5 separate regions of the Homo sapiens genome follow, and all the other regions are linked to region 3. The links are contacts of gene promoters, found by promoter capture Hi-C in blood cells and fetal thymus (Javierre and others, 2016). All regions are on one chromosome and are shown on one strand. The core of a region is centred on a gene start or on the middle of the fragment in contact, and the rest is flanking DNA. Distances in the headings are between cores, read along the strand shown.

Region 1 (4,734 bases), core at 1,451-3,950, 320 kb before region 3:
GATGTCCGCTGTGCTCCTGATCTAGCCAGGCGCTCATTGCTGCTCCCAAGCGGCTAAAGGCTTGCCATTGTTCCTGCATGGCTAAATGCCCAGGTTCATCCTAATCGAGCTGAACACTAGTCGCTGGGTTCCACGGTTCTCTTCCGTGACCCACGGCTTCTAATAGAGCTATAACACTCACTGCGTGGCCCCAGATTCCATTCCTTGGAATCTGTGAGGCCAAGAACCCCAGGTCAGAGAACAAGAGGCTTGCTGCCATCTTGAAAGTGGCCCGCCACCATCTTGGGAGCTCTAAGAACAAGGACACCCTGATAACACCATGATCACTCATATTTGGCTCAGAATTAACCTTCCTTTTTTTTTTTTTTTTTTTTTTTTTTTTGAGACGGTGTCTCCTTCTGTCACCCAGACTGGAGTGCAGTGGCGCAATCTCGGCTCATTGGAAGCTCCGCCTCCCGTGTTCATGCCATTCTCCTTCCTCAGCCTCCCGCGTAGCTGGGACTACAGGTGCCCACCACCACACCCAGCTAATTTTTTTTTTTTGTATTTTTAGTAGAGATGGGGTTTCACCCTGTTAGCCAGGTTGGTCTCAATCTCCTGACCTCGTGATCCGCCCACCTTGGCCTCCCAAAGTGCTGGGATTACAGGTGTGAGCCACTGCGCCCGGCCCAGAATTAACCTTAAATATTTTACGGGGCTTAACTCTTGGCAAAGTTTCTGTGATTAATAAAATCACCATTGACAAGATGAGAATTTAAGAGTGTTGAAAAAAGTAAAATTATATTCAACATATTTTAATTATTTTTGTTTTATTTATTTTGCTTATTATTTTTTTGAGGCAGAGGCTTACTGTGTTGCCCAGGCTGAAGTGCAGTGTGGCACGATCTCCACTTACTGCAACCACTGCCTCCCAGGTTCAAGCGATCCTCCCACCTCAGCCTCCCAAGTAGCTGGGATTACAAGCGTGCACCACCACGCCTGGCTAAGTTTTGTATTTTTAGTAGAGACCAGGTTTTACTATGATGGTCAGGCTGGCTTCGAACTCCTGACCTCAAGTGATCTGCCTGCCTTGGTCTCCCAAAGTGCTGGGATTACAGGCATGAGACACTGTGCCCAGCCAACATATTTTAGAAATATGATATGTAAATGGTCTAGAATGCATTTACTTCCAAAATCACCTGTTCCAGTAAGTTAACACATTTGGTGAATCACCTTCATTTTTGACAAACATTGCTGAGGTAGATTCTTCTATATGTCCCATGTTAAATAGATTGCACTTAAAATATATATTTTATCAGTGCCCTCAAATACTTGTATGTCTCTTGTAATACTCTTGTATGTCTCTTGTAATACTCTTGTAATACTCTAGATTTAATAAAGTGTTTTATATGTGCATCTGATATTTTTTCTGTCCTATTTGAAAGTAAGTTGCTGACATGTGGGTCCCTGGAATTCTTTAGCGTACATTTCCTAAAAGTAATGGCATAACCGCAATATAAGAAATAAGAAAATTTAAATAAGTATTTTAAAATATCATTTACTAACTTCCATATTTAAATTTCTCCATTTGTCCCCAAAATGGTTTTATATCTCCTTAGACTCTTTTACTCCAGAAGAATTCCCCTAATCTTTTTTTTTTTTAATTTTCTGATTAATTCCTTGTGGTATTATTTAACTTGTTTCTCTATTTGCTGTATTTCCAATAAACTGGAAGTGATATCTGAAATCTTGCTTAGATTTTGGTTTAATATTTCCTAAGAAATACTTCTTAACTGATGCAGAGTATTTCATTTTATATCTTATTGGGAAACAAACTCAGGTTATCCTGAATTGCCAGGTCTCTCCAGTACAAAGATGTAGTTTTTCCTTTGCTGTCAGCAAAGATCTGTGAGGTGACACTTTGGCACTGTATAAATAATCCTGTTTCTCAATAACCTTTTATCTAATGGTTTTAAGCATTGATGATCCTGACTTGAATCAGTTATTTCTGTAGTATCTATAGAATAGTGAGCTTCTGGCCAGGCACGGTGGCTCACGCCTGTAATCCCAGCACTTTGGGAGGCTGAGGCGAGTGGATCACAAGGTCAGGAGATCGAGACCATCCTGGCTAACACGGTGAACCCTCGTCTCTACTAAAAATACAAAAAAGTAGCCAGGTGTAATGGTGGGCGCCTGTAGTCCCAGCTACTCTGGAGGCTGAGGCAGGAGAATGGCGTGAACCTGGGAGGCGGGAGCTTGCAGTGAGCCGAGATGGTGCCACTGCACTCCAGCCTGGGAGGGAGTGCGAGACTCCATCTCAAAAAAAAAAAAAAAAAAAAAAAGAATAGTGAGCTTCTAATTCTGTTATGTCTTTACATTAATTACTTGCCATTTCTCAATAAAGCTTTATCTTATCAAATGAGATGAAGTACCCTTCTCTAAAAATCTCAGGGTAACTCCTCAATTCTCTACCAATTTAGGGGTTAGTGTAATAGTTATATATAATATAAGCAAATTAGATATTTATTCTTTTATTGCTCTCCTTTTTGTGTGTCTATTGTTTGGATTCATGAATTTATATTTATTCACTGTTTTAAAATGAGTTACACTCATTAATCTTTGATGCTAAAATAGAGGAAGCTGCTTCAAGCAGGTTTTTGTGTCTTTTTTACATGCTCTAGTAGACTTTTCAAGCATTTTCCTCTTTTCTGGTACAAGAAAATATCCCAAGCCCACCTTGAATGTTTCCTGCCCAGACCTGGTTCCTTTTAGAGATTTGTAACTATTTTCTCTTGCTTGAAATTAATTTTTCACTTACATTTCCTTTCTTTTCCCTTGATGCTCCAAATCTTGACAAAGTGATTGCCAAATTGCCTGATCTTTTCTCGGTGGCGCTTAAGCAGTGTATTTGTGTATCAAAAGGGTAGATTACTTAAAGATCTCTTTTATCTATCCTGTATGTACTACAGGGAGGAAATTATAATTGTTATATTTGTATTTTTAAAGAGGAATGAACCAATTTGTATATGTGAAAAGAATTAAGCTTTTAGAACTTCGGCTTATAAAGTTTAAAGGAGTATCTGTGACTAAAGATTATAAGCATGTAGTTTCCTGATTTAAACAACACTGATAGTTTCATTGTGTTAATTCTCTAATTTCTAACTTTTGCTTTCTTGGATTATATTTTCTAATAGAATTTTACCTACTAGTTCAACTAATGGATTTGATTTTCTGAGGAGTATTAAATTGGCAGCCATCTTCCTAACCATGCTTCTGTTACTTGCAGTTTCTAATTTTTCTTTTTACAAGGTCTTTTTGGAAGTCAGTGTATTTCTTTTTTCCCCTCTGAGACGGAGTTTCACTCTGTCACCCAGGCTGGAGTGCAGTGGTGTGATCTCAGCTCACTGCAACCTCCGCCTCCTGGGTTCAAGCAATTCTCCTGCCTTAGCCTCCTGAGCAGCTGGGATTACAGGCCGTGCCACCACGCCTGGCTAATTTTGTATTTTTAGTAGAGACAGGGTTTCACCATGTTGGCCAGGCTGGTCTTGAACTCCTGATCTCGTGATCCACCCACCTCGGCCTCCCAAAGTGCTGGAATTACAGGCGTGAGCCACCGCACCCAGCTGGAAGTCAATGTAGCTCTAATTAAAATCCTAATGTGAATTTTTGGGCTTCAGTCTTGCAGAGAAATATTTTGACCATCAAATGTGTTTACTAATATGACACCAGTCTTCAAGTAGGTGAATGGATTGAATTTGAGAAACAATATTTTTGTTTCCTTATTTTATTTTACTTCATTTTATTTTTCCTAAGGTACTAAACCATTGCTTTTAAAATTCTGAAGTAATGAAGGGAATAATAGAATAAAGGCCAGAAAAAGAAAATCATCAGTTAAAAAAAAAAATCTACTAAGTATCTTAGTTTTTGTCCAACTTTTTTTTTGTCAGTATATATAAGCATTTATGCATTGGCAAACAAAAGTTAAAAAAAGACCCTGTATAAATTGTTAATCTTCTCAGCTTAGAAAAACTGACTTTCTTCAAACTGAGGTTGAATATCTGCCTCTCAGTAAGAAGAGATAGGAAAAGAAACTTGGAATTATCAGAAAGCTTAAATAAAATTGTCCAGCTTCTAAACAAACATTGCAAATACTTTGTGGTATGGATATAATCAGTTTATTAAACAAATAAACAGAACAGTATCCTTATTTTTGGTGTTTTGGTAAAGGCTTCAATCTTGTGGATGTTTTCAATTTAGGCCCTTGCTCTTGGACATCATAACTATACTTATGTGGACTGCTTTTCCAGGGAACCTCTTTAAAACTCACTTGTAAATACAAGAGCAAGGAAACCATAACAGCCATGTTATCTGACCATAATAAGAGGGATAGATTTCCAATTGCAGCCATGAGCTAAAAGAAACACTCTAACTGTGAGGACTCCAAGATGTTTTTCCCTGAAGTTTGCCCAACATCACAGATCAGAAGGACAAAATTTGCTAACCTTAAAGAGCAAGTTGTAGATGTGAGAGCTTAAGCCCTGGTTTTGTACCCAATTAGGATCAGGTATATACATATTTGTTAAGTTCTTGTTATTTTTGAACAGCAGAAGCACAGTGACATAGAGATTGCATTAAGTTAAATGTAGGAAAAGTTTCTGATTACAATGTGAATGTCACTTTTTCTCTGCTTTGATTTTCGGTAAATTGTGTTATTCTTCTCAGATGTCAAAGGAATACAAAGAATTGTGTCTTAGA
Region 2 (4,607 bases), core at 991-3,490, 370 kb before region 3:
CTCCTTTGAATTTGTCCAATTATTATTTTGGGAATTCATTATTTATTTGCTCATAGGAAACTCTAGACAAATTTGCCACAATAATATCACTCATGTTGAGGGTCTCCTACGGATTTCCTCAGTTATAGCATAATGAAATCATAAAACTTTGTTCAAAATGTCATCTCTAAAACAGATAAAAGCTATTTTGGAAGTTGTTAAAAGAAACATCCCAACTAAAAGGGTTTGTAAAGAGGTATTAATAGCAAAATGAAGCCAAGTTCAGTAAAAATGTCAGCAAATAGAGGAGTTACAGTAATCAAAGAATACTTACTTAAAAAGAAAATTAATAATCTTACTGGGATCTAAATAAAACCAAACAAACAAACCCAGAAAACTTTATGGCCAGCCTTGTGTTGCCCCACTTTTCTTTGAATCCTTGCTGTTTCAGGGATATTTAAGTCCTTCTTTAATTGAACCAGAAAACCTCAGAGAACTGAAATAACATGAACAATGAATTCTCTAGCCACTACGCAAGAAAAGCAAGTAGGGATGGAAAGAGTAGAAAGGCAGGGAGAAAGAGAATTTAAGGCAACTACATGCTAATGATAAGCCATCATGAAGGATTTCTAAATGTAAGATAAAAATTAATGATGATAAGAGAGATGCTGAGTTATACCTTAGTCATGGTGATAGACTACTATTTATTTTAGAATACTATAAAAAAGCAAAGTAAAGAAAGTACAGAGAGTTACTATAGTATAATCACAATTATGTACAATTATGTACAAAAATGAAAAGGGTATTGGGAGTATAGGTGGCATTCTTCTCCTTATTTTCTGTGTTTTCTAAATTTTATTAAGCATTCATTATTTTATAATAAAAATAATTTATTTGAAAACAAGATTGTGCCTTCAGGTTGCTCTAAAAATAGTCTAAAATTAATGGCCTGCTAATGTCTTTTGAATTTGTTACTGAATTTGTATAGTTCCAAAAAGGTCTTGAGACAGTTTACCAAAAAATAAGAAAAATCCAACCAAACAAAAACACCAACCAGAAATGATGAAACACAGCAAATTCACTAAAAAGAGGACAGGAAAACAAGTACTAAGCAACAAGGAAAGCATAGAATACAACAGCTGAATATGTAGATTAAAGAGGTATCACAAAACTTAAAACCAAGGGAAGAAGACTGTTTCCACAGCTTTAAAAATTTAAAGAATCAAAGAGACTTGTTCTTGTTTAGGTCTAGATATTGTGACCACTTTCTTTTAATATAAAAGGAAATCAACAGCACACCAGCTGTTGGCAATGACATTACGTGTGCTGACAAAAGCTATTGTGTAGATTATTCAATTAAGTTAGCTAAATATCGGTAAAGGCTTCTAGGAAAAAACATGCAACATCTTCACAACCTATAAGAAATCACACAAAGATTTCTAATAGAAGAAACAAATATACCAAAAAAGCGTCAGCATTATCACTCATCATGGAAATGTCATTGTGGCATCAACCAGAATGGCTAAAATTAAAAAGACAGGCTGGGCACAGTGGCTCATGCCTGTAATCCTAACACTTTGGGAGGTCAAGGTAGGTGAATTGCTCGAGCCTGGGTGCTCGAGACCAGCCTGGGCAACATGGCGAAACCCCATCACTGCAAAAAATACAAAAAATTAGCCGGGAGTGGTGGTGCATGCCTGTAGTTCCAGCTACTTGGGAGGCGGAGGTGAGAGGGAGGGTTGAGGCTGAGCCAAGGGAGGTTGAGGCTGCAGTAAGCTGTGATTATGGGTCTGGCTGTCAGCCTGGGAGATAGAGTGAGACCATGTACCAAAAAAATAAAAAAAAAAAAAAGAAAGATTGACAATAGCAAATATTGGAGAATAGGCCAGGTATGGTGGCTCATGCTGTCATCCCAGCACTTTGGGAGGCCAAGGCACATGGATTGCCTGAGCTCAGGAGTTTGAGGCCAGCCTGGGCAACAGGCAAATCCCTGTCCCTACAAAAAATACCAAAATTAGCCAGGCATGATGATGGGCGCCTATAGTCCCAGCTACTCAGGAGGAGGCTGAGGTGGGAAGACGGCTTGAGCCTGGGAAGCAGAGATTGCAGTGAGTGGAGATGGTGCCACTGTACTCCAGCCTGGGCAATAGAGCCAGACCTTGTCTCAAAATGAATGAATGAGTGTTGGAGAGTAGGAAGACCACCCTTAGATTATTGGGGAAAAGACAAAATGGTAGAACCACTTTAGAAACTGGCATTTTCTTAAAATGTTAAACATACATCTACCCTGTGACTCAGCAATTCTACTCCTAAATTAAATCATATAACCACCCAAAGCAGTATTCAGCAAAAAATAATAACTAAAGCCTAGAAACTGTATTGGTACCTATTTACAGAAGAATGAATAAACAGACTATGGTCTATTGATACACTGTAATGGAGTACTACTTAAAAAGCACTGGTATACATAACAATGTGGAAAAATTGCAAAAACAAGCCAGACACAAAAGACATTCTGTATGATCCCACTTATATGAAGTTCTAGAATAGGCAAAACTGATTTCTGGTAATAGAAATCAGATCAATGGTTGCTTCTGCAGGGAGTGGGGTACAATGATTAACTGGGAAGAAGTATGACGAAACTTTCTTGGGTGACAGAAACAGTGCATGAATAGGGTGTGGGTTGTACAAATATACGTATTTGTCAAAACTGATCAAACTATACCCTTAAGAGCTGAGAATTTCAGAGTATCTAAATTATCCCTTAATTTAAAAAAAACGAAGTTAGCTTAATAGTTGATAACTTTTAGTTCCTAAGTACTGTCTACTAAAAGAAGACACATCTTTTAGATTTGACATTTGTAGAAGGCAAGGCTAGTGTTTTGTAACAGATCTTAAATAACCTAACATATTCTTGCCCCTGTAAAGAGGGCTTCAGCAGGCATTGCTAGGATTTTTTTCTCAGAAAACCATCATTCCTTTTAAACACTTTCACAAAAACTGAAGTCCAGGACCAGAACTTACAGATTTATATACTGTTGGACAAAAAAATGTGATCTTGGCCTATGGGTGGGGAAGGAAAGCTCATTAATGTCTCAACCAAATTTAGTTATTTTAAGTTATACTTTCAATAAAGTTGTAAATTCAGTGAACAATCTGTAAAGACCTTGATTCAGATGAATCTCACGTAAAAGGTTTTGTAGTTTGGCTCAAACACATGGTCAAGGCATCATAGTCATGGCTGTATATTTAAATCACAAATTCAGATGATAAGCCTAAATTATTAAGTAGTAGCAAATATCAAAATATCTAATATCTTGGATTGTGGAAAATGGAAATTGAGAAAAAAGTATCTATGATCAGACTTCCAATCATGTAACACAATCAAAGTACATTAGTAAGGAATGCATTTGGTACTGTTAAACTTACTTGATTACTGGAGGCAATGAATCAAGTCTAGTCTCTGGGCTCCAAGCTATGCCATCAACCCTGACTCCATGGTGAAATGTTCGAAGTGTTTTATACTGAATGCCTTCAACGTCTGCTTCTTCTTCCTAAGCATACACAGTAAATGTTTTAATAAGTAATGAGAACAAACAATATAATATTCTGTATTTCATTATAATGAATTTATCAGGAGGTTATGCTTATGCTTTTGAAAAGTTCAAAAGCAAATTACATATTAAGATTTAACTAGTTCATTGAATTAAAAAAAAATCCAAAGTTGTCTAAGCCTCACAAAATAACTCTCTAAGGCAACTAGAAACAAATGGTAAACATGTTCTACTTTATCTTAGGAGGCATTTCATAATAAGTTCAATGAAAATGGACTGCTTGGTCAGGCGTGTTGGCTCACGTCTATAATCCCAACACTTTGCGGGGCTGAGGTGGAAGGATTGCTTGAGCTCTGGAGTCTGAGACCAGACTGGGCAACACAGTGAGACCTGTGTCTACGTTATAAAAAAAGAAAACAAAGAAAATGGAATGCTCTAAAGAATCAAGATATTCTAGGTAAATGAATTACCAGAACCGGATTATCTACTGACAATATTAAAAAAATACACTGTACATTCTCACTACATGGAAAATACTTTGGGACCTTATAAAGACCTCAAAGTCTTTATAATCAGTGTCAATGATTTTCATGTAGTGTTACATGTGGCATTATATGTGTGTAAGATGCTACAAATAATTCATCTGAACTATTATTGTTTATGAATAGTGAATATGTAATAAATAATCTGGCTAATTTAGTTTTAGATATTTGATTCTGGGAATAAATGCTTAATAAAGTTGGCTTATTTATCCAGTTCAGCCCTACTAAAATGATTTCAGTTTATCCTCACGGGAAGGTGAGAAAAAAAATCAACTTTAAAAGTCAAGCCATCTGTCGCTGGCAATGGAGACAATAACCTGAAAAGTTCTCCCATTACAACATTGCAAAAATTCAAATACAGACAAGCAAACGACTACCAAGGTATGCAGCTGTTATAAGGGTATCTGCCTACATGCAATGATTTAAAGCTTCAGTTTGCAAGAGAGAAGAGACAAATCCTAGTGCCTGCACAAGGAAGGATGCCAGATCAGAGATTTCTGCATAGATCCAGGGCCCGATTAAGGGGAAAGCA
Region 3 (4,496 bases), core at 1,255-3,754:
CAAGACAGAACCTCTAGTGCATTTTCCTTTAGTGTAGGGAACAGTCCAGTACACCCACAGAGAACCAGAGAATTTTATGTTCCCACAAATGAAAACAATACCGAACTTGCTTAGGAGTTTAAAGTGTGAAACAAGTGGTCCCATATGTTCATTATTTCCTTGGCCTTTTATTTTGCCAAACACAAAAGAAATCAATAGAGAGAAAGGAAAGATATGATAGAAAAAAAAGGGAAGAATCAGAAAGACATGAGAAAAAAAGAAAAAAAAATCAGAAAACACTTTCTCAAAAATCATTCACAAACCCAAATTTTAAAAGTTCTTTTTTTTTTAATCTTAGATAAATGGAATATTAATTGATTCCAGATGTCTGGGCCACAATGAAAATGCCCTGTAAAATTTGAGGGCAACAGTCATAAGAAAATACTCACTGTAGGTGTAATCATTTTTGTTTGTTCCAGGTCTTTTACAGCAGGTCAGGGTGGGTATTATGAGGCCGATGTGAATAGAAAACTGAAGTCTTAAAAACATGTGCTGCTTTGTGGGTGGGGTTTGTGAAAGCATCTAGTTACATTTGGACACCCAGGCAGGTATGCTATTATGAGCCTGGGTAAACTGCCTTTTGTCCATTGAAACAATGAACAAATTGCACAGCTGGGATTTAAGTCAATCTTTTCCCCCCAGTCAAGCCACCTATTTCCATTGTATGCCTATTGTAGCAGCCCAGATAGTGACCCAAGCTCCAGTCCACTCCCTTACTCCCTTCCCCCGACTCACTCACTTGGAAATACCTTGAGAGTCAGAGTACAATCAGCTGGTGAGCTCTGCCTCTGGGCAGGACACCTTTACCCACTGAATTACATGTGAAAGACCACGCAGCTCCCTCAAACCACTTCCTGCTTCAAGTACAGAAAAAAGTAACAACTTATTAAGAGCTCCACTTCTGAAGTGTTCAGCATACACAGCATGAAAAGTGCATTTGGAAACAATTTTCTTAACTTGTAATTAATGCAGAGATAACGCTCCACAGCCTCTTTTATGATCCCCTAAGTAAGGAGACAAAAACTCCAGCTGCTAGATCACATAGTATGTATGCACAGTGACGTCATTTCTTTGAAAGCAAGGTGGCCTGCATGTGTTGGCATCTCAGGAACAGCAGAATCAGGTGCCTGACAAGGGTGTATCTTTAACTCCTGGAGCCACTTACTTGACTAGGGAAAGTCGTAGTGGTGAAGTGTTTGAAAGCAGCAACTGAATGCTGCACTAAGTGGCAGAGACGTCTTATGAATTGAGCCCTCAGGCAATTGAATCGGTGGAGCCAGTGACAGCAGCTTAAAAGCGCTTGCAAATTGAAAAAAAAACACAAGTCTTGAAGGATATAATTTTGCTGAGAATGGAAACTAGAACTACGGCCAGCAATCGGAAACGAGAAGTCGGTGCACTGACAGCAGCAGCCAGATTTACCTAAAGGGACTTCACGACACTGAATATAAAATCAGAGTTTTATAACACAGAACCCCAAGTCCAAACTTTGCCCATGAAAGTCCTCTTCTAAACAGAAAAGTTGGGCAAGCAGCTCTTAGAAAGTTTCTGCTTTCCATATACAGTATGTATTTGTTTAAATTATACAAATATGCAAGGTCAGCAAGAGTTGTCAAGGAGTTCTTTTTTGGAAGAACAAATTACACTTTACTCTAACTTTAACACTCTCTCTGGGCATAAGTGCAGAGTTCCGGGACCTTAGCTCCAAAGATCATATTTAAAAGCTTTAATATCATCTAAAATACAACCCTTCATATATAGCATGCCTTGTAAATAAAGTCCTGATGAGTTACACACACAGAGACACATACACACAGAGACACATACACACATGCAAAAGAACATGGTCTTAAAAATAAAACATCTGCACCTGCAAAAGAAAAAAAAAATCCCCAAGTTCATATCCATGCTCTATAGCCCTTAGCCATAGAGAGGATTTAAAGGAATCTTCTGTAATGACACCACGGAAGCCCTGCAGAAGTGGAGGATTTAGCATAAGTACCTTGCAATAGTTTCTACTCATACAGATATCTGTGCAAATGCATCCATCTCCCCGAGCTATTTTTCAGATTCCACAGAATTGCATATTCAGCAATTTATAAATAACTCTCGGTTCCGAAACAATGAAAATTTTAAAGTGAAGAACAGTTCTAGGCAGAAGCAAACAGTACACAATTTAAATAGAATTCCCCAATGACTTCAAAGAGTAAGAAATATTTACCTTCAAGAAATCACAAAAGCAGCACTTAAATAATTGGGTTGGAAGACTGCTGATTTTTCCCATTGCTTCTGAAGTACAAAGTCTGAAAATGAATTGGTTAGCAGGAATAATGAAGCAAAAAGAAATCCAGAGAGATGGGAGATGTTGAGAGCAATGTCACATTTCAATTTTGAGGACTTTATTCCATTGCGCAGGCTCTATCTGCTCTGAATTTAGCAGTGACAGTGAGATTTAGCAAACAGAAGAGGGATTTAGAGAAAATCCTCACATTTATCTACAAAACACAGACACTGTAGACAGGAAACAGCTGGGGGAACATTTGCCTTCTCTCTCTCTCCCTCTTCTGGCAAAGTTATTGAGTAAGGACTTTTTTGGGCATGGTGACAAATAACATCATACCTTTGCATTTTAAAACTAGAGCACAGAAGCATTTTTTTCCCTTAAAAGAATGTGTGTTAGTGACAGGGTTCGCAGACATTAAAATACTTATGCTGCCATAGAAAATAAGGATCTGTTTTCTGATTAACTTTCTGCTGGGCATGAAGACACAAACGTCTGCTAATACACCTTACCAGTATTAAAGGAATATGGGGGATGGGAGAGCAATTTTAGATTCTAGAGCAAATGCATTATTTAAAACAAAAAAAGAAAGAAAGGACGATAAGACCCTCTCCAGCAAACTCTACAATTTTAACCCTGAAGTGACTGGGGTAAAGTAGATTGGAAGACAGCACTCGGGTGACCCCTTGTCCCAGTTGCCAAGTGAGAGGTGTGATCTCATTTCCTAGAACCTATGGAGGGGCAGGCAGCATTGGATTGGTCCCTTTAGGGCACTGTCTCATACTTTTTCTCCTGCGATGAGGCAAAGACTATGCCGAGCTGTAAAACCCAACTGAAATAGAACATTTTTCTTTATTCTTCTACTAGGCTGCCTGTCACTGTCCCCTCCCCACCCCACCACTCTGGGAGAAGGGTACCTGGGGGGCAAACAATTTTCCTGTTGTTTGAATTTTCCATATAACTCAAACCTGTGTGTGTGTGTGTGTGTGTGTGTGTGTGTGTGTGTGTGTATGACAGAGGGAGTCTGTGTGCCAGAGTGTGTTTTCTTTCTCTGATTTTTGTGTATTCTAAATAACACCAGCTGGCTAGCAATACCCTCTCGAGGGTTATGATGTCATTCAAATCCCTCAACTGGGTGACTGGCCGGCAACATGGTCCAAGCCAGCTGTTTTGCTATTTATAATGTACACTTGCCTTTGCCATTGAGAATTCAGTTCTGATCTTTTGTCGATACAGTTTGTACCTATTTCCCTTTGGTTTTGTGAAGCAGTAGATAAGAAAGTGAATTATAAAATAAGGTTGCAAAAGCCCAGAGCAGACATACCTCTTTCCCTAGAGAGCTCTCCAGGCCTGGTTTCCCAGGAGTGGTGGAAATAACCTGGACCTTGAATTTTTTCTTTTTTTTTTTTTCCACATGACTCTCAGGGGACTGACACATCAACTGAAAACACAGTTCTGCTTGAAATCCTACTCTGGCTCTTTGTGTTATCCTGGGGCCAGAAATTTGTTTGTAGAAGTGGGTGCCCTAACAAAAAACAAACAAACCTGCTTTGTTTGGAAGGGGGTTGGGTTTGTTTGAGTCTTCTGTGTGGTTAATACATTGTAGCAATGTTTACCTTTCAGAAATCAAAGTTAGAAATCTGGAATTATGTTGTGTCAATGGTGCACTATGTTCAGCAACATTTTGTGAGCTCTACTATGTGCCCAACTACAACATCCCTAGGAAAACAAAGAGGAATAAGATATGGTCAAGTCCCTTCAGGGGCTTTCAGCTGAATGTCAGAGACAAAGAGGAAAACTTCACAGTCATATGATGGGCATGTGCTCTTTTAAAAACATGAACAGTGCACAATGAGAGGGAGTGACACATTCTCTGGGAAGACAGGGGAGTAAAATCTTTTGGAAAATCCAAAATGAGGGAGGCAGATTGTGTCATGAGAGGCTTTGGGGTACCATGTTGGGAAATTTCAGTGGGTGGGATTTGACCCAAAGAGCACACTAAGAGGTATCATCAAGAGGTGGCCTAGTAGGTGGCCCTGGATTATTCTTAATGCAGGGATTATCCACATGTGCAGATGTGTGAGTAATCCCTGCATTTAATAATAATCCGTGGCTTCCTTTAATAAGCTCTCTTTGTACACTTGATTTGTGACAAATCTTTTTCTTTTCTGCAGTT
Region 4 (4,855 bases), core at 2,356-4,855, 420 kb before region 3:
AGACACATACAACCTATCAAGACTAAATCATAAAGAAATAGGTAATCTGAACAGACCAATAATAAGTAGAGAGATCAAATCAGTAGTTAAGTCTCCCACTAAACAAAACCCCCAGGACTTGATGCCTTCACTACTGAATTCTACCAAACATTTAAAGAAGAACTAATACAAATCCTTCTCAAACTCTTCCAAAATACTGAAGAGGAGGGGAAACTTTCGAACTCAATTTAGGAGGCCAGCATTATCCTGATTCCAAAGCCAGACAAATCCACTACAAGAAAAGAAAATCAAAGGTCAATATCCCCAGTGAACATAGAAGCAAAAATCCTCTACAAAATACTGGCAAGCTGAATACAACAGCGCATTAAAAAGGTCATTCACCAGGATCAAGTCAGATTTATCCCTGGGATACAAGGATGGTTCAACATATGCAAATCAGTAAAGGTGATACATCACATTAACAGAATGAAAGACAAAAACCGTATGATCATCTCAATAGATGGAACAAAGGCATTTGACAAAATTCAACATCCTTTGATGATAAAAACTCTCAACAAATTAGGTATAGAAAGAATCTAGCTCAACACAATGAAGGCCATTTATGACAAGCCCACAGCTAGCATCATACGCAATGGTGAAAACTGAAAGTTTTTCCTCTAAGATGAGGGACAAGACAAGGATATTCACTCTTACCCCTTCTATTCAACATAGTACTAGAAGTCCTAGCTATAGTAATTAGACAAGAGGGAAAAATAAAAGGCATTGAAATTGGAAAAAAGGAAATGAAATTGTTTCTGTTCGCAGATGGCATGCTCTTATATATTGAAAATCTTATAAAAAATTCCACCAAAAAATTGTTAGAACTAACAAACTACTTTGGTAAAGCTGCAGGATATAAAATCAACATACAAAAATCAGTAGCATTTCTATACACTAAAAGTAAACTATCTGAAAAAAAAGAAAAAAAATCTCATTTACAATAGCTACAAAAAAAATACATAGGGGTAAATTTAACCAGTGAGGTGAAAGATCTGTACACTGAAAACTATAACACATTGATGAAAAAAATTGAAGAAGACACAAATAAATGGAAAGATAACGTGTGTTCATGGATTGGAAACATGAATGTTGTTACAAGGTTGACACCACTCAAAGCAATCTACAGACTCAATGCAATCCCTATCAATTTTCCAATAATATTTTCACAGTAATAGAAAAAAAAATCCTAAAATTCATACTGAACCACAAAAGACCCTGAACAGGCAATGCAATATTAAGCCAAAAAAACAAAGCCAGAGAGATCACACTCTCTGATTTGAAAATCTACCACAAAGCTACAGTAATCAAAACAGCCATAGACCAAGGAAACAGAATAAAGAGCCCAGAAATAAATCCATGCATTTAAAGTCAATTGATTTTTGAGAAAGATGTTAAGAACACAGAAAAGACAGTTACAGAAACATACTTTTCACAGATGTTAAGAATAACAGTCTCAATAAATCATTTTGGGACAACTGGATATCCACATGCAGAATGAAATTAGACCCTCATCCTTTACCATATAAAAAAATTTAACACGAAAAGGATTCAAGATTTAAATGTAAGACCTGAAACTGTAAAACTACTAGAAGAAAACATAAGGGGAAAGTTGCACGACATTGGTCTGGGCAATGACTTTTTTTGGATATAAACCCCAAAGCACTGGTAACAAAACCAAAAATAAATAAATGGGATTACATCACACTAAGAAGTTTGTAGAATCTGGATTTTAAATTATTTTTTAAAAATTATTTTAAAAGACTACGAAGCTTTTGCACAGCCAACGAAACCATCAATAGAGTGAAGAGAACCTATGGAATGGGAGACTATATTTGGAAACCATATATGTGATGAAGGGAACCTCTGTACACTGTTGGTGGGAATGTAAATTAGTACAGCTATTATAGAAAATAGTACAGAGGTTCCACAAAAAATTAAAAATAGAACTACTATATGATCCAGCAATCCCACTTCTGGGTATATATCCAAAGGATGTAAAATTAGTACATTCAAGAGACATCTGTACTTGAAAGTTCACTGCAACATTATTCACAATAGCCAAGATACGGAATCAAAAGTGTCCATCAATGGATGAATGGATTAAAAAAAGTGGTATATATACACAATGGAATACTATTTAGCCTTAAAAAAGAATGAAATCCTGTCATTTGTGACAACATAAATGAACTGGAAGACATTGTGTTAAATGAAATAAGCCAGTCAAACAGAGACAGATACTGAATGATCTCACTTATATATGGAGGATAAAAAAGTACAACTCATAGAAATATTGAGTAGAATGGTGGTTAGCAGGGGCTTGGGGTTAAGAGGATTGGGGAGATGCGGTTAAAGGATACAAAATTTCAGTTAGGCAGGAGGAATAAGTTCAAGAGATCTCCTACATGTCATGGTGACTGCTGTTAATAACAATATATTGTATTGAAAATTGCTAAGAGAGGCGATTTTAAGTGTGCTCACCACAAAAAAAAGTAAGTACGTGAGGCATTGCTTATGTTAAATAGCTTGGTTTGGCCATTCCACAATGTATTCATATATCAAAACATCATGTTGTACATCATAAAAATACAATTTTTACCTGTCAATTTAAATAAAGAAATAAGATTTTTGAAAAAGGACAAAAGGCAATAGACTACCTTTAAACTTCATGAGGTTTTGATGAACAAACTTTTCTCTAGAGTTCAAAGAAGTACTAGAATACAGATACAGCCAGAACAGCTGCAGAGAAGTTGAGACAGGAACAGGAGGAGGTTAAAGAGTGACTCATGAGGCTTTGATCATAATCTATCAATAAATGAGATGACTATTGTTTTCTTTGATCTAGTTGTCAGTAAACAGCTCTCATTCAAGAACCATTAGGCACTACAAAGGTGAAGGGCTATCCCTGTTTCAGGACAGCTCAAACAAGTTGCTTTCATAGGTGTGTTTACTTGTTGCTTTGTTCTTTATTTTTCAGCTTGATGATAAGGGCTATGGGGATAAGAGTATTTGCTTCTTTCTGCTAGTAATCCTGGGACAGTCCCTTTCCAGATACTTCTCCATCTTGCCCTGGTATAAAAATCGAAGGGTGAAAACCTTGGCTTACTGGTTTTTATTCAGTCAATTTTATATCCTAAATTATTTAGAGAGATAGTAGGAACGAAATAAAACTGACTGGAAGCAAGCACCTAGTTTCTGGCCATTAACATATAAAACTAAATTGAATTAAGCCCCTTACTCTACCAATTACTATATTTTACTTTGTCTTAGAAGGCAGAAGAAATGTTGATAATTAGACAAAACAATAACTGGAATTTCATACAAGTAAAAAATAGTTTTCCCATCTCCATGCAATTTTTATTAATAGTAGTAACACACTTAACAAAAACTCTAATTGCTAAGGCTATACCTTACATAAGACAGAATGTTCAACAGACTTACTTGTGAATATCTAAGTCCCATAATTTACTTTGCTCTTTCCTTAAATGCAATTTCAACCCATGGTTCCCATTGTCTTCCCCATCCTCTTTTGGCTTTTTAAAAGACAGGGATTCCCTGGATCCTGGATCTAGTACCTAATCCTCTTTTTTAAAACAAAAACAAAAACAAAACACTGAGTTTCTCTGTTGTCCAGTCTTGTCTCAAATTCCCGGGCGCAAGTGATCCTCCTGCCTCTGCCTCCCGAGTAGCTGGGATTACAGGTGCGCACTGCTGTGCCAGTTCTGGTACCTAATCCCTAGTTGGGTACTTAATCCTTACATCACAAGTCATTTGCAGAAAATATTTTCATTTCTATAATCATATTTGATGCCAAAGTTATGTTTCTAGGCTATCTCCTCTAGCCATCTTTTAGATCCAGAATGTAAAATAAATTTAAACAATGTGGTTTTGGGGTACGGGAACGAATGACAAATTGCAAAATAAAAACTGTTTTCAACTGTGAAATTTTAGAAGCCGGGCGCGGTGGCTCACGCCTGTAATCCCAGCACTTTGGGAGGCCGAGGCTAGTGGATCGCCCAAGGTCAGGAATTCGAGACCAGCTTGATCAACATGTTGGAACCCCGTTTCTACTAAATATAAAAAATTAGCCAGGCATGGTGGCGCATGCCTGTAATCCCAGCTACTCAGGAGGCTGAGGCAGGAGAATCGCTTGAACCCGGGAGGTGGAGGTTGCAGTGAGCCGAGATCGCGCCACTGCACTGTAGCTTGGGTGACAGAGTGAGACCCTGTCTCACAAAAAAAAAAAAAAAAAAAAAAAAAATTAGATTTCCTATTGTTCCCTTTAATCGCAATAAGCCTGACTGACCTATCTCACAGGGACCTCTAGAACACTAACTCAGTAGAGGAGGGGTGCAGGATTGATTTTAACAGAGTAAAAGAGAACCTAAGATGTGTTAACACAATTGGGTGATGAGAGGTCACGGTACATGAATAAAGACTGTAATTCTTGTTTTACTCCATTTGTCAGTCTCAGCAGTGAAAGGTGATTTCCAGGCGACTCTATAAACCAGTATCACCGGACCTACCTCCTCACAAACTGTAGAAAAGCGGTTGAGGAACTGTACAGTGTGCACCACAAATTGGTTTAGAAAAGCCACCGTTCTTTTCTGTTGAATAGCTGGCACCTGTGTTACGTAAAAACAAACATGGTTCATACAGGAGGAACGTACACAGTGCAAATCTTTTCATATTTGGACATAATCACGAGGCACTTTGCTGTGTGATATGAATTTCTTGAAGGACTGGGAATAGTCATTAACTTGTTTCCTAAGCTGTGGGTGGGGTGTCCGAAGATGACAGAGGTGCACAAAAGTTTGAG
Region 5 (4,903 bases), core at 128-2,627, 510 kb before region 3:
GATCATTACACATTATATGCTGGTATCAAAACATCTCATGTATCCCATAAATATATATAACAATTATGAACTCATGAAAATAAATAAGTTAGCTTAAAAATGCTAGCTTTTTATAGGTCCTCAATATAGTGGAAAAAATGGTAAGCAGTAGGAATAAATATGTAATGCTAGAAAGAACCGAGAAATTTTTAAGGAGTGGGGCTGCTGGTAGCAATATTCCTTGTCTGTATTTGGACAAAAATGTTTGTGTTTTTGCAAGGCTGGGTTTGCTTTATTTAAATATAAACAAAAACAAAACAAAACAATTAAAAAAATAATAAATAAATATAAACAGCAACTATCTACATAAACTTTCACATACCTGTTGGAAAGAGGACAATTTCTCTAGAATTATACATCAGTCAAAAAAATTATTGTGTAATATAATTTACCTGTCTGTTTAAGCCATCCCATTGCAAAGCAGGGACACAGTCCTTGTGAATAAAAAGCAGACTAAAACAATTTTCACTTTCAAGTCAGTTCTTTCATAAAGGAATAAAACAGTGAAATCACAAAATTTCTTCATTCTCTTCCACCATATGGGTTTCTTTGAGGTTTAATAATATTATAAATAAAGCAGCACTGAGATGAAATACAAAACAGTGAACAACAATTTAGAAACATTTTGAAGGAGCAAGTATTATATTCTAGCGTTGCCAGGCTTTCAGCATAAGTAAGATAGAAAACAGAGCGCGAACTCTCATTTGTTCTATCAAGAAAGCATAAATATTGGGTTCTTATTAAGACATCCTCTTGCAGCTGTACACCAGCTCTCAACTATTAAAAAAGATTCTTAAATTCCCAGGGAAACAAAAGTCAATTTCAGTCATATAAGTTTGCATATAAACTTTGCTTTATTCCAAACATTTTTTCATCAAGGAATTTGGAACAACAATTTTTTGAAAGAGAGTCTTCAGTTCACCTATTACACCATTATAAATATTTGAATGACCTCCAGCAACTTTGCTTAGAAAATTTCAATGTCTGTATAACATGCCAATGACAGCGCAGCACTAGGGTCAATACATTTCATTATTTGGCAAGATAACCACTCATAGCAATAGATTGAAATTCAGATTGTCATTTTCATGTGTTTCACTTTCATCACAGCACACTGGATGGTTGCTCTTGACTTTTCTTGCCCTCTTGGCAAGATACTCATTTGTCAGATTATATTAAAATTTTGTTTTATCTGTTAAAGCTTAGAGAGTGAGCTAAGTGATACTGTTTTAATCCCAAATCAATATGTGTAGTCAGGTCTTGAAAGAATTCCAATCATTGTAGCCCTTGTTCATATTTTAGGTGGTTAATAATGCTATCGTGTCATTTTCCTTGGAGCTCATTTTATATATTCTGTTTGTAGGAATTATAGTGACAATTGATCACATAGCCTAAACAAGGAAATGGATGTGATATGCATTTTCTGGGTTTTGTAAGAATCTTCACTGGCAAAGTGAAATATTATATATATTTTCTTAAGCTTGGAGAAATAGAGTAGAGGTGTACTTCTCACACTTTAGTGAGCTTTAGAATCTCCTGGAGAGGTGGTTAAAACAAACTTGTAGGTCTCATAGCCAGAGATTCTGATTCAGTAGACCTGGGTAGAATTTGAGACTTTGGGATAGATTCTCAGTTGTTGCTGATGTTGCCAATTCAACTACCATCCTTTGAGAAACAATAAAATAATATGGAGTGGTCAATAGCAAAGGCTTTGCCATTAAACAATCTTGGGCTTAAATCCTGCTTTCTTGTTTAAAGATTTGTTGATTTGAGGTAATTTATTTCCACTATTTTTAAGCCTTTGTTTCTCATCTGCTCATTAGGGGTTTTGTATGTATTAAATAAAATGATGACTGTCCAGCACTTGATATAGTGCTGATAATAAATGACAGCCACAGTTATTAGAAATGTGGTCATCTCTTTTGCTGGGATCTGTCTGGTTAACCACGCAGTGCTTCTGCTTCATATCTTGGTGTATTTGGCAAATTATTTGTCAGTTATGTCTAGATTAGGAGTTATCTGATTAGTGAGCTAGCAGCTATTCAAGACTTGAATTGCTCAGGTGGGCCCCAAAACACTTAAATATCTTTATCTTTGGGCTCTCCTTAAACAGGAACTCCAACTAAACACTGTACTAACATTTTGTTTGGTTCTGTCCTTTAAATTATTTTCCATGTAAATAACTTTATAGTTCCACAGTTATGTCTTCTTATGAATGATTTTTAAAAAATGAACATCAGCTTATTTTCAAAATCAAACTCAAGTCTTTGGAGACTAATATCCTTTCTCTCCATATTTTGCTATTAAGAGGGCTGGTGTTCTGCCAAGGCAACGTATTAATAAATTTAAGCTTGAGATTTTCATTGTCATGCGAACGTTGAAATTGGCCCTCAATTACACAAAGCAGCCAATTCAGCAGGATACGTGAATTGGATTTATAACGAACACGTTTGTGAAGAATTACTTTTAAATCCCTGATTTTGTGGTTTATTTCTAATTCGTTCAAAAAGCATGATCCAGCAGTCACAAAAGTCTCAGCCAATTCAGACCAAGTTTATTTTGAGAAATACATGATTTTACTTTAGTCAAGTGTTAACAAATAAATTGGTTTTACATTTAATCATTTTTTCAGTTGTTCACGTAATACTAAATCCCATCTTGCTGGTAGGCACTGGGCTAGACACTAGGGAAAACACTTCATCCTCCCACAGCCTATAGTCTAGTGAAAAAGGTAAAAGTACAGCTGTTAGAACCTCATTTTAACAGGCTGATAAGTCTCCAGTCCTTATTAGTTGATAAGTGTTAGAAAAATATTTGTGTTCATACCCAATTACCCATGAATCTATTAACCATCACCCAAAACTTCACACACTTCACTAGGTGGTGTCTTCTAGATGTGGTATCCTCCAGGGTGTCTAGCCAAAGGAGAACTTTACATTTCCTATGGTTGTATTCGTAAAATGAACATAGAGACGGCAAATCAAGGCAGCTCTGTAGTTTGCAATTAGCTGTCACTTAAACTCTCTAGCAAAATGATGTGATTGAAGACAATAACAGTCTATACATTAAACTTGATTGGGGGGATTTTCATACAATGCAGAAATTTACATTCACATGATCTGTTATGAAATGAATGTTTGTGTTCTCTAAAAATGCATATGTTGAGGCCCTAATCCCTAATGTGATGCTATTTGGCAATGGGGCCTTTGCTAGGTAATTAGGGCTAGACAAAATCATGAGGGTTGGGGCCCTTATGATGGGATTAGTGCCTTTATAAGAAGAAACACCAGAGAGCTTGCTCTGTCTCTCTCAACCATGTGAGGACATAGTGAGAAGGCTGCCATCTGCAAACCAGGAATAGAGATCTCACCAGAAGCTGAATTGGTTGGCATCTTGATCTTGGACTTCCCAGCCTCCAGAATGGTGAGAAATAAATGTCTGTGGTTTAAGCCACCAAGTCTATGGATTTTGTTATGGCAGCCCTAGCCAACTAAGACATGATCTTAGAAAGATCACAGGGATTTGTACAAAATTACGGAAACGCTCTAAACTTATCTCTTATTATATCCAAATGGGGCCCCTCAACCCCAGTCTGCCAGGCCGGCTCTTTACCATTGCCTGAACACAATTTGCTCTTTCTTGCCTCTACTACATACTCCTCCTTGTGCTGTTTTCTTTACCCAAAATGCCCTCCCCCAATCTTCCACTTCTAGCTGAGAGGCTCATCTTTAAGAAATCTTGCCTGATTAGCCCTAGTCCTTTCCTAAATGATCCTTCATTACAAACTTCATGTTTCACCATGCACTCACATCTATCTCACTCTATTGTGTCCTTATGTTGGTTCAAGGCTGTAGGTCTTATCTCTTCAACTAGACCCTGAGCATTCCCAAGACAAGCCTAGGGTCTAGATGTTAAAAATCTTTTGTGTCCTCCACTGGCTCTCTTAGAGTATTGTGCACATCAAATGGGAATAAAACTTACTGAATGAAAATTGGACTGGATGCCAAGAGCCAACAAATGTTCTAAGGCAAATGAATCAAGTAGTACGGGGAAGCACAATAAAACCCTGAATCCAGAGGCTGTGGGTGCAGGGTGGGGTGAGAGTTGTTCTGGATAAGTGAGTTTAATGGATGGCTGAGGATTTATCTTTTTGAACATCAAAAGTTTTACTTTTAATTATCTTGGATGGAAACATTTCCAGTATAGCAAACTTAACTGCGTTCTCAAATAGTGCATTATGAACATGATCCAGCCAGAGGACTCGGGGTTGTCATTAAAGCCTATAACGCTGAGAAGCCCTCAGGCCCCTCTGAGGTTTGCAGAACTGTTTGTCCCTATTCTAAATGGCTGCAGATTTCTGTGTTTTTATTGTTGTTTTGTTTTTTTGGCTCTTCTGAGTCCTCCCTTGCCGCTGTCCATCTCACTGATGTCCATGTGAGTGTGCCATTTCTATTCCCTGATCCTAATTTGCTGCTTCTCATCTAAAATGAGTTGGAAATCAGATGCCCAAGCTCACTGTGGTTGTTGTCATGATTATTATTGTTAGAAATGTGTGTAAACGAAGAGAAAAGGGCTCTCTGTGTGAGGGCTTGCCGGAGTCTCCATGGCCAAACTGGGCAAGAGTCAAACACATCTATGTTGTGAACGCCGAGTTTGGCTGCTCCGAAGACTTTTAAATTTATCCTCTATTCTTACTTTTCTGTTCTGAAAATAAAACTTTCTGGATATATATGTTTCAGATAAATTCAGTCGGGTATTCAACAAATAACATTGTTTGCAAAGTGCAAGATGCATGCTAGGCACTGTATGATGACCCTCTAAAATGAACATTCTATATCTGTCTGGCTCACCATTTTCTATATTG

Evidence for each region. The method cuts DNA at HindIII sites, captures the fragments that hold promoters and counts their contacts. A CHiCAGO score of 5 or more calls a contact.
Region 1: a contact is called between a fragment that was not itself captured here and the fragment with the promoter of IGF1 in region 3, in 3 of 17 cell types (endothelial precursors, megakaryocytes and total CD8 T cells). The highest score is 8.6, in endothelial precursors.
Region 2: a contact is called between a fragment that was not itself captured here and the fragment with the promoter of IGF1 in region 3, in 1 of 17 cell types (megakaryocytes). The highest score is 5.1, in megakaryocytes.
Region 4: a contact is called between a fragment that was not itself captured here and the fragment with the promoter of IGF1 in region 3, in 1 of 17 cell types (megakaryocytes). The highest score is 5.8, in megakaryocytes.
Region 5: a fragment that was not itself captured here is called in contact with the fragment with the promoter of IGF1 in region 3 in 1 of 17 cell types (megakaryocytes); the score reaches 6.1 in megakaryocytes.

The regions. Positions count from the first base shown.
Region 1 is chr12:102,155,823-102,160,556 of GRCh38, forward strand. The region is part of intron 4 of PARPBP (PARP1 binding protein); the gene reads left to right. Among named protein-coding and RNA genes, the nearest start is that of PARPBP, 38 kb to the left of the region's middle. The HindIII fragment of the contact is 639 bases long and covers 2,382-3,020 here.
Region 2 is chr12:102,108,700-102,113,306 of GRCh38, forward strand. NUP37 (nucleoporin 37) reads right to left here. Exons shown (of 10, transcript NM_024057.4): 3 at 3,409-3,533. Among named protein-coding and RNA genes, the nearest start is that of NUP37, 9.1 kb to the right of the region's middle. The HindIII fragment of the contact is 4,522 bases long and covers 1-4,501 here.
Region 3 is chr12:102,478,059-102,482,554 of GRCh38, forward strand. IGF1 (insulin like growth factor 1) reads right to left here and starts at 2,505. Exons shown (of 4, transcript NM_000618.5): 1 at 2,261-2,505. The coding sequence starts at 2,323. It overlaps LINC02456 (long intergenic non-protein coding RNA 2456), which reads left to right. Exons shown (of 13, transcript XR_007063427.1): 11 at 1-4,496. RefSeq lists enhancers at 961-1,220, 1,311-1,360. The HindIII fragment of the contact is 6,669 bases long and covers 1,762-4,496 here.
Region 4 is chr12:102,056,686-102,061,540 of GRCh38, forward strand. It overlaps WASHC3 (WASH complex subunit 3), which reads right to left. Exons shown (of 7, transcript NM_016053.4): 2 at 4,563-4,661. Among named protein-coding and RNA genes, the nearest start is that of WASHC3, 2.9 kb to the right of the region's middle. The HindIII fragment of the contact is 3,599 bases long and covers 1,807-4,855 here.
Region 5 is chr12:101,973,267-101,978,169 of GRCh38, forward strand. No RefSeq gene overlaps it. Among named protein-coding and RNA genes, the nearest start is that of DRAM1-AS1, 11 kb to the left of the region's middle. RefSeq lists an enhancer at 1,280-1,449. The HindIII fragment of the contact is 279 bases long and covers 1,239-1,517 here.